3 separate regions of the Homo sapiens genome follow, and regions 1 and 3 are each linked to region 2. The links are contacts of gene promoters, found by promoter capture Hi-C in blood cells and fetal thymus (Javierre and others, 2016). All regions are on one chromosome and are shown on one strand. The core of a region is centred on a gene start or on the middle of the fragment in contact, and the rest is flanking DNA. Distances in the headings are between cores, read along the strand shown.

Region 1 (4,303 bases), core at 106-2,605, 140 kb after region 2:
AAATTTAATTTCCTCAGCAAGGCTATTTTTACTTTCTGCAGAAACGGTACACTCACCAGCAGTTTTGCCATGAAGAGTACACCGAACAAAGGAGGCAGGGTCATTTATAGCCTGACGCATCCACCCTACTGCTGTGTCCGGTTTCCATTGGCTGGAACAGGACCTCGCTTTCTGTATTTGTCCTGATTGGCTAACAACTTAGAACTTTTTAAAAAGAGGCAAAGGCAGAGAACAAAGGAAGGAGGAAGTTAACTTGTGGAATGCTGAGAAAGGTAAAAACACCTTCAAATAAGGAAGAGGAACAGGCTATGACCTAATGCTTGCTTGGACCAATATAAGCATGCCAGGGCAAATATTTAGGCTAAATTGTGGAAGCTAAGAACATAAAGTAAATTGATTTATTACGGCTAGCAGATATTTAAGAATGTTAACAGAGGTCTTTGAATAAATTTTGCTTCTAAGAGATGTTACTATTTATTCCTAATAAGATGGAGAGGAAAGTCTTTGAAGAGGAACCTCTACTTTACTTTTTACATCCTCAAAACAACCCTGTGTAGTAAGTAATAATATTATTGTGCTGGGTAGAGTGGCCCATGCCTGTAATCCCAGCTACTCAGAGGCTGAGATGGAAGGCTCTCTTGAGCTCAGGAGGTCAAGACCAGCCGGGGCAATACAATGAGACCTTGCCTCTAAGAATAATATGCCAGGCAAGATGGTTCACGCCTATAATCCCACCACTTTGGGAGGCCAAGGCGGGAGGATCCCTAGAGCTCAGGAGTCGAGACCAGCCTGGGCAATATAGAGAGATCCTGTCTCTACAAAAATAAAAAATATAAAAATTAGCTGGGCACGGTGGCACATGCCTGTGGTCCCAGCTACTCAGGAGGCTGAGGCAGGAGGAGCACTTCAGCCCAGGAGGTTGAGGCTGCAGTGAGTCGTGATCACACCACTGCACTCCAGCCTGGGTGACACAGTGAGATTCTGTCTCAAAATAATAACAATAAATATCTATAAAATAAAGATAATGATATCTTTATTTTATAGATAAGAAAAATGAGGCACTGAAAAAATTAAGTAGTTTGAGTTTTCACAGGTAGGAAAATGACAGAGCTATGATTTGAATAAGGCAGTTCGGTGCTAGAATCCATGTACTTAACCACAATGCCTGAAGCATAATTCTGAACTGGGCAATCAAAAGGGGATCACCCACATTTCACTGTGTGAAGCATGAATTGCCTGATAGAGGAAATTTTTTTTGGTTCTAAATTCAGGGAGAAGGCTGTTAAGCCCAGGCCTCTGTGGGGGATGGGAGTTCTTTGTTCTGTGATGCAATGATGACCTCAGGGTAAACTGCCAGAAGGCTAAGGGAAATGGAATGGCTGCTGGAGGACCTGCTTGGGGCTAAGGGGGATATGGGGCTTCTCTGGGGCCAACTGACCCATGCCCTAGCCTGCAGACACTGCGGCAGCAGCTGCTTCCAGAGTCCAGGAAATCTGGTGACACTATTCTTATTCGTGGTTTGGCAGATTCAGAGATGGTGGCAGCTTGGGAGGTTGCGACAGCTTCATCCCTGGTGCTCTGGGAATATGGTGCAAGGCAAGGTGGGTGACCTGTGACTGTACAGCTGGATGAATGACTGCTGACACCACATGTGAGGTCATTGGTATGAATGTGGGCCCAGGTGAGTGACTATAAGCCCTAGATGTGAGGCTGGGTGAGTAACCACTGACACTAGATTTGAAGCCAGGTGAGTGACCATGGATTCTAGATGTAGAATGAGGGAATACTGATCTCCAAATGAGGACTGGGTAATGACCATTAACACTAGATGAGGAGCTGTGTAGGTGACTGGCCACACACGTGGGATTAGGTGAGTAACTGTCCACTCTGGATATGGAGCAGACTGAGTGCCTCATAGCAAACCTTGTGTATCTGAAAAGGCTTCATGCCTGAGAATATCTTTATCTACTTCCCAGGAACTACCACTTCTGCACCGTGTGGCCTTCCTTGATCACCTGTGTAAGCAGAAATCAGAAGTGGAGGAAGAAGGGGAAGAAGAGGAAGAGGGGGAAGACGAGGCATCTCTGGATCCACTGAAGCCATGTTCTCCTACCAAAGAAGCTCCCACTGGAGAGCAAGCCACTCCAGCCCCACCCCAGCCATCCTGTGGTTCTGAGGGCCTCCTCAAGGCTATAGGGATACCAGAGCAAACAGTCATGCAGCCCGTGAGCCCTTCCAGATCCTTCCCCATCTTCCAGATTCTGACCAGCTTTCCTGTGAGGCACAAGATAGCATCAGGGAACCGCCAGCAGCAGAGAAAAAGCCAGCTCTTCTGGGGTCTCCCCTCTCTGCACAGCGAGTCCTTGGAGGCCATCTTCCTGAGCTCAGGTGGCCCCTCTCCTCTGAAGTGGTCTGTTTGTTCTTCTGTCTTCTTCAACAAGCTTGCCTTCCTACCTAGGTCCAACCTGTTGCTTCCCCAGTATCACTCCTCAGCCCAGTTTTCTACCCATGGGGCCCATACTATGGAAGATCTAGAAGGGATGGCCCCCGATCCTCAGCTGCTTCCACCTCCATCTTCTCCTTCTGTCTCATCACTACTCCTCCATCTGAGGCCCTTCCCTGTGGACCACAAGGGAGTTTTATCTGGCGCTGAGGCACCCACACAGTCCCCTGGAACTAGCCCCCTGGAAGTTCTCCCTGGATATGAGACTCATTTGGAAACCACAGGACACAAAAAGATGCCCCAAGCTTTTGAGCCTCCGATGCCACCCCCCTGCCAATCCCCAGCTTCTCTGTCAGAACCCAGAAAAGTTAGCCCTGAAGGAGGACTTGCTATATCTAAGGACTTCTGGGGAACCGTGGGATACAGAGAGAAACCTCAGGCCTCTGAGTCTTCAATGCCAGTCCCTTGCCCTCCCCTAGACTCCCTGCCAGAACTCCAGAGAGAGAGTTCCCTGGAAGATCCATCCAGATATAAGCCCCAGTGGGAATGCAGAGAAAACTCAGGAAACCTCTGGGCTTTTGAGTCTCCAGTCTTGGACCTCAACCCAGAGCTCTCTGGAACCAGCCCTGAATGTGTCCCACCAGCATCTGAGACACCATGGAAGGGCATGCAAAGTAGAGAAAATATTTGGGTCCCTGCAGACCCAGTTTCACCTCCCAGCCTTCCCTCAGTCCCTCTCCTGGAGTCTCTAGTAATGGGCCCCCAGGGAGTCCTGTCTGAATCCAAAGCTTTGTGGGAGACCATGGGGCAGAAAGAGAACCTCTGGGCATCTGATTCCCCAGACCCTGTTCATAGCACACCTCCAACCACCCTTATGGAACCACACAGAATCAATCCTGGGGAATGCCTCGCTACATCAGAAGCTACATGGAAGGATACTGAGCATTCCAGGAATTCCTCGGCTTCTAGGTCTCCATCTCTGGCCCTCAGCCCACCCCCAGCTCTTGCACCGGAGCTGCTCAGAGTTAGATCCATGGGGGTCCTGTCTGATTCTGAAGCTAGATGTGGGGACATACAAAAGACAAAAAACTCCTGGGCCTCTAAGCACCCAGCTTGTAACTTACCCCAAGACCTGCATGGAGCCAGCCCTCTGGGAGTCTTGTCTGATTCTCAGTCTATTGTAGGGGAAATGGAGCAAAAAGAAAACTGTGTTCCTGTGTTCCCAGGTAGGGGCTCCAGCCCATCCTCAAACTCTGTTTCAAAGTCCCACGTAAGTGAGCCTATCGCAGACCAAAGCAACTATAAGCCTGACGGGGAGGCAGTGGAGCAAAGAAAGAACCACTGGGCCACTGAGCTCCCAGCCCCCAGCTCACTCTCTACTCCTCTACCAGAGCCACACATTGACCTTGAACTTGTGTGGAGAAATGTGCAACAAAGAGAAGTTCCCCAAGGCCCCAGCCCTCTGGCAGTGGATCCCCTACACCCAGTACCCCAGCCTCCCACCCTAGCTGAAGCTGTGAAGATTGAACGCACTCATCCTGGTCTACCCAAGGGAGTAACGTGCCCAGGGGTTAAGGCAGAGGCCCCACTCTCCCAGAGATGGACTGTCCCAGAGTTGCTCACCCATCCTGGGATCCATGCCTGGCAGTGGAGTAGAGAGCTGAAACTCAGGCTGAAGAAACTGCGGCAGAGCCCTGCCTCCAGAGCCCCTGGCCCAAGTCAATCATTTTGCAGCTCCCCTATTCTGAGCTCCACAATTCCAGACTTCTGGGGACTCCCTTCCTGCCCACCACAGCAGATTTATCCCCCCAATCCATGCCCCCACTCTTCAAGTTGTCATCCTCAAGAAGTTCAGCGCAC
Region 2 (4,088 bases), core at 726-3,225:
AATGTAAGCACTGATTGGGTATTTGATGATATGAAGAAACTATTTTGAACTTTCTAGGTTTAGTAATGGTAGCTCTGTCACTGTAAAAGCTTGTATATGTTGAGATGCATACTAAAATATTTAATGGTATAAATTTCTGATATCTGGAATTTACTTCAAAACGAGGAGGTAACTAGTGTGGGGGTAAAGAAGAAACAAGATTGTTAAAAAATATTAATTTGAAGTTGGGTGACAGGTACATGGAGGTATGTTATTTGAAATTTTCCCTAGTAAAAAGATAATTAAAAACAGAATCTTCCAAAAATGTTTTCAAATACCTTACTAATAAAGTAAAAACTCAGAAGACAGAGTCATGCGTAAATAAATAAACATGTAGAAATGCTTTTGATTTAATAATATACACATGAAGATCTTATAATCAAAATGATTAAATTTTGTTTATACCTTGAAAATATGTTACTATGATTGTAAAAATGAATTTATATTCTTATTCTTGTATAAAATGTATTATCCTATTAAATATTACTGATAGTTACTACTCAACCAAACAAAATAATTACATTTCCATCTGCCTCAATAATGCATCTAAAAGAAACTCCCATAAAAATGAAATTTTAGTCTGGGCATGATGGTTCATGCCTGTAATCTCAACACTTTGGGAGGATGAGGCAGGAGGATGACTTGAGTCCAGGAGTTCAAGACCAGCCTGGGCAACATAATGGGACCCCATCTCTACAAAAAATTATAAAATTAGCCAGACGTGGTGGCATGCATCTGTAGTCCCAGCTACGCAACTCAGGAGGCTGAGGTGGGAAGACCTTTTGAAACTGGGAGGTCAAGGCTACAGTGAACCATGATCACACCATTGCACTCCAGCCTGGGCGACAGAGTAAGACCCTGTCTCAAAAAAATAAAAATAAATAAATGAAATGAAATTTTAGTCATGATTTCAAAAATGTTTTCAGTAGCTGTATCCTTTTCACCATTTAAAATGTTTCTAAATGTTCTGAAATTTTATTCCTATCTATGACAGATTTCAATTAAGAAAAAGAAAAGAGCTTTCTTGGGGAGGGGAGGTGGTTAATAGGGTGTCAGCAAATCTCTGTGGATAATATTATGAAAAGTCCTCATATAATAGGTGAGTTTGGCCATCTCTGGCGATGAGCTAACCTAGACAATGAACTATAAATAAAGGTCAAAGAATTCAGGAACACAAGGAAGAAAGGGGAATTAACCCTGACTGAGCAGCATTACCCAGTGCCAGGCCTGTTATACGCCTCACCTCATTCAGTGCTTACCACCAGCCAGACCCAGGTATTGTTATCCCACGTTATACAAGAGGAAACTGAATCACCAAGAAGTAAAATAACTAGCCCATCACAGCAACTTAGAGATAGATAAAAAGGTTGATTCTAAACTCCACTAAGGTCCTTGCCACCTCTATTTCATTCAAGTTAAGAGGATATAAATACTCAGAATGATTATAAATAAGCTGTTTGAAATTGCAGACTATTCACATATCCAGTAGTTTTTTAAAAGAAGGACAGTAATAAAATAAATTTTAAGATAGGAGCCCGGGTGGCCAAGGCAGGAGGACACTTGAGGCTAGGAGTTCAAAACCAGCCTGGGCAACACAGCAAGACCCCATCTCTACAAAAAATAAAAAATTAGCTGGGCATGGTGGCATGCTTCTGTAGCCCTAGCTACTCAGGAAGCTGAGGCAGGAGAATCACTTGAGCCCAAGAGGCTGAAGCTGCAGCGAGCTGTGATTGTGCCACTGCATTCCAGCCCAAGCTACAGAGCTAAACCCTATTTCAAAAATAAAATGACATGAAATAAAGTAAATTTTTTAAAAACAGGAACCAAAGAGCAAGGCTGGATCCAAAGGTCTCCAGTGTCATCCTGGTACACACCTAGTTCTTCTCATCAGGTGTGTCCCCCAACTGCAGGAAAGGCATTAGGTTGTCACAGCCCAGTGACACTAGCACCTGAGATTGTTCCACTCATGACCCTTTTGGCAGTATGGCCATTTTCACAATATTGATTCTACCCATCCATGAGATTGATGTGTTTCCATTTGTTTGTGTCATCTATGATTTCTTTCAGCAGTGTTCTGTAGTTTTCCTTGCAGAAGACTTTTGACTCCTTGGTTAGGTATATTCCTAAGTATTTTATTTTTATTTTTTTTCAGCTATTGTAAGGGAGGTTGAGTTCTTGATTTGATTCTCCGCTTGGTCACTGTTGGTGTATAGAAGCGTTACTGATTTGTGTACATTAATCTTGTATCTGGAAACTTTGCTGAATTCTTTTATCAATTCTAGGAGCTTTCTGGAGGAGTCTTTAGGGTTTTTAGGGTAGACGATTATATTGTCAGCAAACAGTGAAGGGTTTTCAAGGTAGACGATCATATTGTCACCAAACAGTGACAGTTTGACTTCCTCTTTACTGATTTGGATGCCCTTTATTTCTTTCTCTTGTCTGATTGCTCTGGCTAGGACTTCCAGTACTATGTTGAAGAGGAGTGGTGAGAGTGGGCATCCTTGTCTTATTCCCCTTCTCAGAGGGAATACTTTCAACCTTTCCCCATTCAGTATTATTTTGGCTGTGGGTTTGTCGTGGATGGCTTTTATTACATTAAGGTATGTCCCTTGTATGCCAATTTCGCTTAGAGTTTTAATCATAAAGGGATGCTGGATTTTGTCGAATGCTTTTTCTGCATCTATTGAGATGATCATGTGACTTTTGTTTTTAATTCTGTTTATGTGATATATCACATTTATTGACTTGCATATGTTAAACCATCCCTGCATCCCTGGTATGCAACCCACTTGAGCATGGTGGATTATCTTTTTGATATGTTCTTGGATTTGGTTAGCTAGTATTTTGTTAAGGATTTTAGCATCTATACTCATCAAGGATATCAGTCTGTAGTTTTCTTTTTTGGTTATGTCCTTTCCTGGTTTTGGTCTTAGAGTGATGCCAGCTTCATAGAATGAATTAGGGAGGGTTCCTTCTTTCTCTGTCTTGTGGAATAGTGTCAAAAGGATTGCTTGTTAGTGGCCTGTTCAGGGTACCTAATTCTTCCTGATTTGAGCTAGGAGGGTTGTATTTTTCCAGGAATTTATTCATCTCTTCTAGGTTTTCTAGTTTATGCACTCACAGCACTGACTGGATTACACATTCATCAGACACTTCTGAGTAGCCTAGAACTTGCAATGTAAATAGACCTAGAAGGAGAGAATGCCCTGACCAGCAGGTGGGAGTAGGCCAGGTTCGTTGGAGTTACATTTATCACTATAAATTAGTAAATTAGCATTCTGATTTATGCTTCAGTCTCTTTTTAGTTTAGTTACAGTGGATCCATCCCAAAGAAACCACTTGGTTCAGAGAACCTTGACAAAATGGAGCCTGCCTATAAAGCTGAAAGCTGGCTCCTGGTTCTGATTCCCCTCGTTAGTCTCCACCCTCCTGACCAGCTGCAGAGGCAGGGAGGGCAATCCTAAACACCAGACTACTGGCATGACCACAACCTGACCTCCTACCAGAGGAGAACAAGCACCCCCATTTCTCATCTAAGCCGCCTTCCTCTCCTGTGCTTTAGTTTTTTCCCTGTTAGCTAAAAGTGGTGTTCATTAAAACCTATTTGTTGAATAAAACACTGTAGGGGATATAAAAGTATGTAGAAGTGAATTCTGATAACTTAAAAGTTACATGCTTTCAGCATAGTGGGAAATAATAGGTATCTATACAATAATACGGTATCTGAGAGTATGTGGTATATAATCTCCTTATAAATATTATATAAAGTTGCTATATAAATCTCCTGTAAAGGGGAGATTATTTTTGGCTGAAGTGATCTGGGAAAGCTTCATGTAGAAGATGGCATTCAAGCTGGTGCTTGAAGCTGAGAGAGGATTTTAATATGTGGAGTTGGAAGAGGGAGTGATCCAAAATGCAGGAATCAACATGCATAAACTGCTGGTGTCTCTGTGTAATGATAACATGCAGAAATAACAGAAGGATTCCTGAAATATTTATTTTACTCTGAGTGCATTTTATTTTGTATATATTTGATCTTAATTAACTGA
Region 3 (3,857 bases), core at 1-2,500, 180 kb after region 2:
TGACAGTCAGCTCCAAGGGAAGAACAGGAACAGCTGCAGGGAGCCCTGGAGCAACAATGTTGGTCTTACAGACTGCTCCCCCATGGAAGATCCTCCAAATAAAATCCCAACTCAGAGATCACCCCACTCCAACCAAAACAGCTACAATAAAGAACCCACCCTCCAGCCAATTAGCTAAGGATTTAAAAAAAGAACCCAACCTTTGGACAGAGAGTCTGGAAAGGGCAAAAAAGTTATCCAGATCAGACCATCTTGGAAACCATTTTTCAAATGCCACTCTGTGAGTGTGTAAGGAAGAGAGGGATTTGCCTGTACAAAGATGATTCCACTCCAGTCTCCTCTGTGCCTTAAACAGGACTCCCTGCCCCGAGTAATTATATCGATCCCAAAAACGCAGGAGCGGATGTTTCTCTGGCTATGGAAGAGGGGAACTGACCATCCTGGGGAGGACCCGCCTACCTTGCAGACTATGGAGGAGCCCTCTGAGCCCTTCCAGTGCATCCTGAGCCAACTGCTGTCGCCTCAGAGTCAGACCGGAGTTCTGAGCCACCTGCCACATGAGGGAGGGGTTGTCACTGAGGATCAATCCTTTTTTCTCCCCTTGCAGCAGTGGCAAGGGATGCATTCTCCAGTCATTTCTGGCTCTTTGGTCAAGCTCAGTCCCTCCCCATCGGTTGGGGTAAATCCACTGCAAACCCGCTTTCAGGGATCTTGAGGCTGCAAACCGAGGGTGCCAGCAACCGTGTTACCTTGGCCTGTCGAACGAGCCGGTCATTCTTTTCCCTCCACAGGTCCAGGCAGCTGGAGCCCACAGAGGTGGTCTGGCGGGACATGGTGGCCGAGGCTGGGCCCGGAGACCAGAAGCGGACTTAGGAAGGGTGAAGCTGGCCTGCCCAAGCTCCCAACCCCAGCGGGGAGGGGCCTGGGCACTTCTGCACCCCGCCGAGCTCCCCTGCTTCTCTCGGGGTCCCAATCCACCCGCCCAGGCTTTCCAGGACAGATGGGACGCTCTCTCCCCGCGGCCCGCCGGGCTCTCAACCTCGCCTCTGGTTGGCCGGGTCTGCGAAGCTCTGGGCTGCGGTTGGTCCTCTTGAAGAGTTAGTTCCCGCGGGAAACTCGGGGAGGAAACGAGTCAGCAACCCCAAACAGGCTTAGGCGGGCTAGAAGCCGGGGTCGTGTCTGACTGGGGCAGTCGCACGGCCGGCGGTGCGGCCCGCTCGGCTCTCGCGGAGGCCACAGCCTCGAGAAAGGGTGGGCGGGAGCGAGTTTCGGCCCCACAGTCCGTGGCTCGGCCCTTCCTCGCTGCCACACCCCCAGGTCCTCCTGGGTTCCCGCTTCCACCGAGGGCCGACTGCGAGGTGCATGCTGGGAGTCGTAGTACCGCACCGGGGCGGAACAGCTCCGCCCCGGCGGATGGTGTTTCCAGAAAGCGGTAACTGGAGACGAGGGCGCTCCGTAATCGTCCATCCTTTCTCTGCTCACTGTCGAGCACCAACACGCTCACCAAGGTCGGCTTTCTACCGCGTGTAGTCTGCTGGCAGTGCCGCTCTGTACTTGCACTGCTCAAAAGTACCTGCCCAATCATTTCAAATTAAATGGAGCTAGGAGAATTGAATATCCATATGCAAAAAAAAAAAAAAAAAAAGACAGGAAAGAAAAGAACGCGACCATACATACGTACATAAAATCAACTCAATGGATCACAAACTAAATATAAGAGCCAAAAATATAAAACTTCTAAAAGAAAACGTAAAGCAGCCTAACTAACATGGTGAAACCTTCTCTACAAAAATACAAAAATTAGCAGGGCGTGGTGTCGTGCGCCTGTAATCCCAGCTACCCCGGAGGCTGAGGCGGAAGAATCGCTTGAACCCGGGTGGCGGAGGTTGCAGTGAGCCGACATCGTGCCATTGCACTCCAGCCTGGGTGACAGAGTGAGACTCCGTCTCAAAAAAAAAAAAAAAAGAAAACGTAAGAGAACAGCTTTATGACCTTGGGTTTGGCAACAAGTTGTTAGACACAGCACTAAAAGCTTGTACAATTTAAAAAAAAGTTAACTTTATTAAAATTAAAAACTCTTGTACTACAAAGACATCATTAAGAAGTCATACGCTGGGGCCGGGCGCCGTGGCTCACGCCTGTGATCCCAGCACTTTGGGAGACCGAGGCGGGCGGATCACGAGGTCAGGAGATCGAGACCATCATGGCTAACACGGTGAAACCCCGTCTCTACTAAAAATACAAAAAATTAGCCGGGCGATGTGGCGGGCGCCTGTAGTCCCAGCTACTCGGGAGGCTGAGGCAGGAGAAAGGCGTGAACCCCGCGGGCCAGAGCCTGCAGTGAGCCGAGATCGCCCCACTGCACTCCAGCCTGCGCAACAGCGAGACTCCATCTCAAAAAAAAAAGAAAAGAAAAGAAAAGAAAAGAAGAAAAATCATAGGCTGGATGTGGCTCATGCTGTAATCCCAGCACTTTGGGAGGCTGAGGCTGGAGGATTCCCTGAAGCCAGGAGTTCAAGACCAGCCTAGGCAACAAAGATGGTGTCTTTTGTAGAGACATTATCTCTACAAAAAATTTAAAACATTAACCCTGGCACAATAACACACCTGTAGACCCAGCTACTTGGGAGGCTGAGGTGGGAGGAGCCCTTGAGCCTAGGAGTTCCAGGTTGCAGTGAGCCATGATCACACCACTGCCCTCCAGCCTGAGTAACAGAGTGAGACCCTGCCTCAAAAAAAGAAAGGTCACAGTCACAGAGTGGGAGAAACTACTTGCTAATTATATACCTCATAAGGGACTGGTATCCCTAACACATAAAAACTCCCAAAACTCAAGAAAAAGATTTTTAAAAACAATCTTAGCTGGGTGTGGTGGTTCATGCCTGTTATCCCAGCACTTTGGGAGGCTGAGGTGGGAGGATCATTTGAGCCTCAGAAGTTTAAGACCTGCCTGGGCAACATAGCAAAACCCCACCTCTACAAAAAAAATACAAAAATTAGCTGGGCATGGTGGCACACACCTGTAGTCCCATCTACTCGGGAAACTTAGGTGGGAGGATCACCTGAGCTCAGGGATGTCGAAGCTGCAGTGAGCCATGATTGAGCCACTGCACTCCAGCGTGGGCAACAAAGTGAGACCCTGTCTCAAAACAAAACAAAAAACAATTTTAAGATGGACCAAAAAAAAAAAAAAAGACATTTTACCAAAAAAGATCTACTAATGGCTAAGAAACACATAAAAAGATGCTCGGCATTATTAGCTATTAGAGAAACACAGTTAAAAACATGGCCAGGGCCGGGCCATGTTATGCCTGTAATCCCAGCACTTTGGGAGGCTGAGGTGGATGGATCACTTGAGGTCAGGAGTTCAAGACCAGCATGGCCAACTTGGTGAAACCTCGTCTCTACTAAAAATACAAAAATTAGGCAGGCATGGTGGTGCATGCCTGTAATCCCAGCTACCTGGGAAGCTGAGGTGGGAGAATGGCTTGAACCCGGAAGGTGGAGGTTGCAGTGAGCCGAGATCCTGCCACTGAACTCTAGCCTAGGTGACACAGCGAGACTTCGTCTCAAAAAATAAAAAAACGCTTCACACAGCCGGGCGTGGTGGCTCACACCTTTAATCCCAGCACTTTGGGAGGCTGAGGCAGGTGGATCACTTGAGGCCAGGAGTTTGAGACCAGCCAAGCCAACAGGGCAAAACCCTGTCTCTACTGCAAATACAAAAATTAGCTGGGCATGGTGGCAGACACCTGTAATCCCAGCTACTCAGGAGGCTGAGGCATGACAATCACTTGAACCTGGGAAACGGAGGTTGCAGTGAGCTGAGACCATGCCACTGCACTCCAGCCTGGGTG

What was found. Contacts are between HindIII fragments. The CHiCAGO score rates a contact against its expected background, and 5 or more counts as called.
Region 1: a contact is called between the fragment with the promoter of SPATA31G1 here and a fragment that was not itself captured in region 2, in 2 of 17 cell types (M0 macrophages and M2 macrophages). The highest score is 6.2, in M0 macrophages.
Region 3: a contact is called between the fragment with the promoter of FANCG here and a fragment that was not itself captured in region 2, in 3 of 17 cell types (M2 macrophages, neutrophils and naive B cells). The highest score is 6.5, in M2 macrophages.

What each region holds. Positions count from the first base shown.
Region 1 is chr9:35,040,885-35,045,187 of GRCh38, forward strand. SPATA31G1 (SPATA31 subfamily G member 1) reads left to right here and starts at 1,356. Exons shown (of 2, transcript NM_203299.4): 1 at 1,356-1,601; 2 at 1,977-4,303. The coding sequence starts at 1,371. The HindIII fragment of the contact is 2,574 bases long and covers 1-2,439 here.
Region 2 is chr9:34,901,750-34,905,837 of GRCh38, forward strand. It overlaps a transcript of PHF24 not described here. Among named protein-coding and RNA genes, the nearest start is that of SPATA31F3, 8.0 kb to the left of the region's middle. The HindIII fragment of the contact is 3,777 bases long and covers 88-3,864 here.
Region 3 is chr9:35,078,692-35,082,548 of GRCh38, forward strand. FANCG (FA complementation group G) reads right to left here and starts at 1,251. Exons shown (of 14, transcript NM_004629.2): 1 at 750-1,251; 2 at 460-550; 3 at 1-45. The coding sequence starts at 833. RefSeq lists enhancers at 273-880, 2,097-2,703 and a silencer at 956-1,121. The HindIII fragment of the contact is 2,060 bases long and covers 1-2,030 here.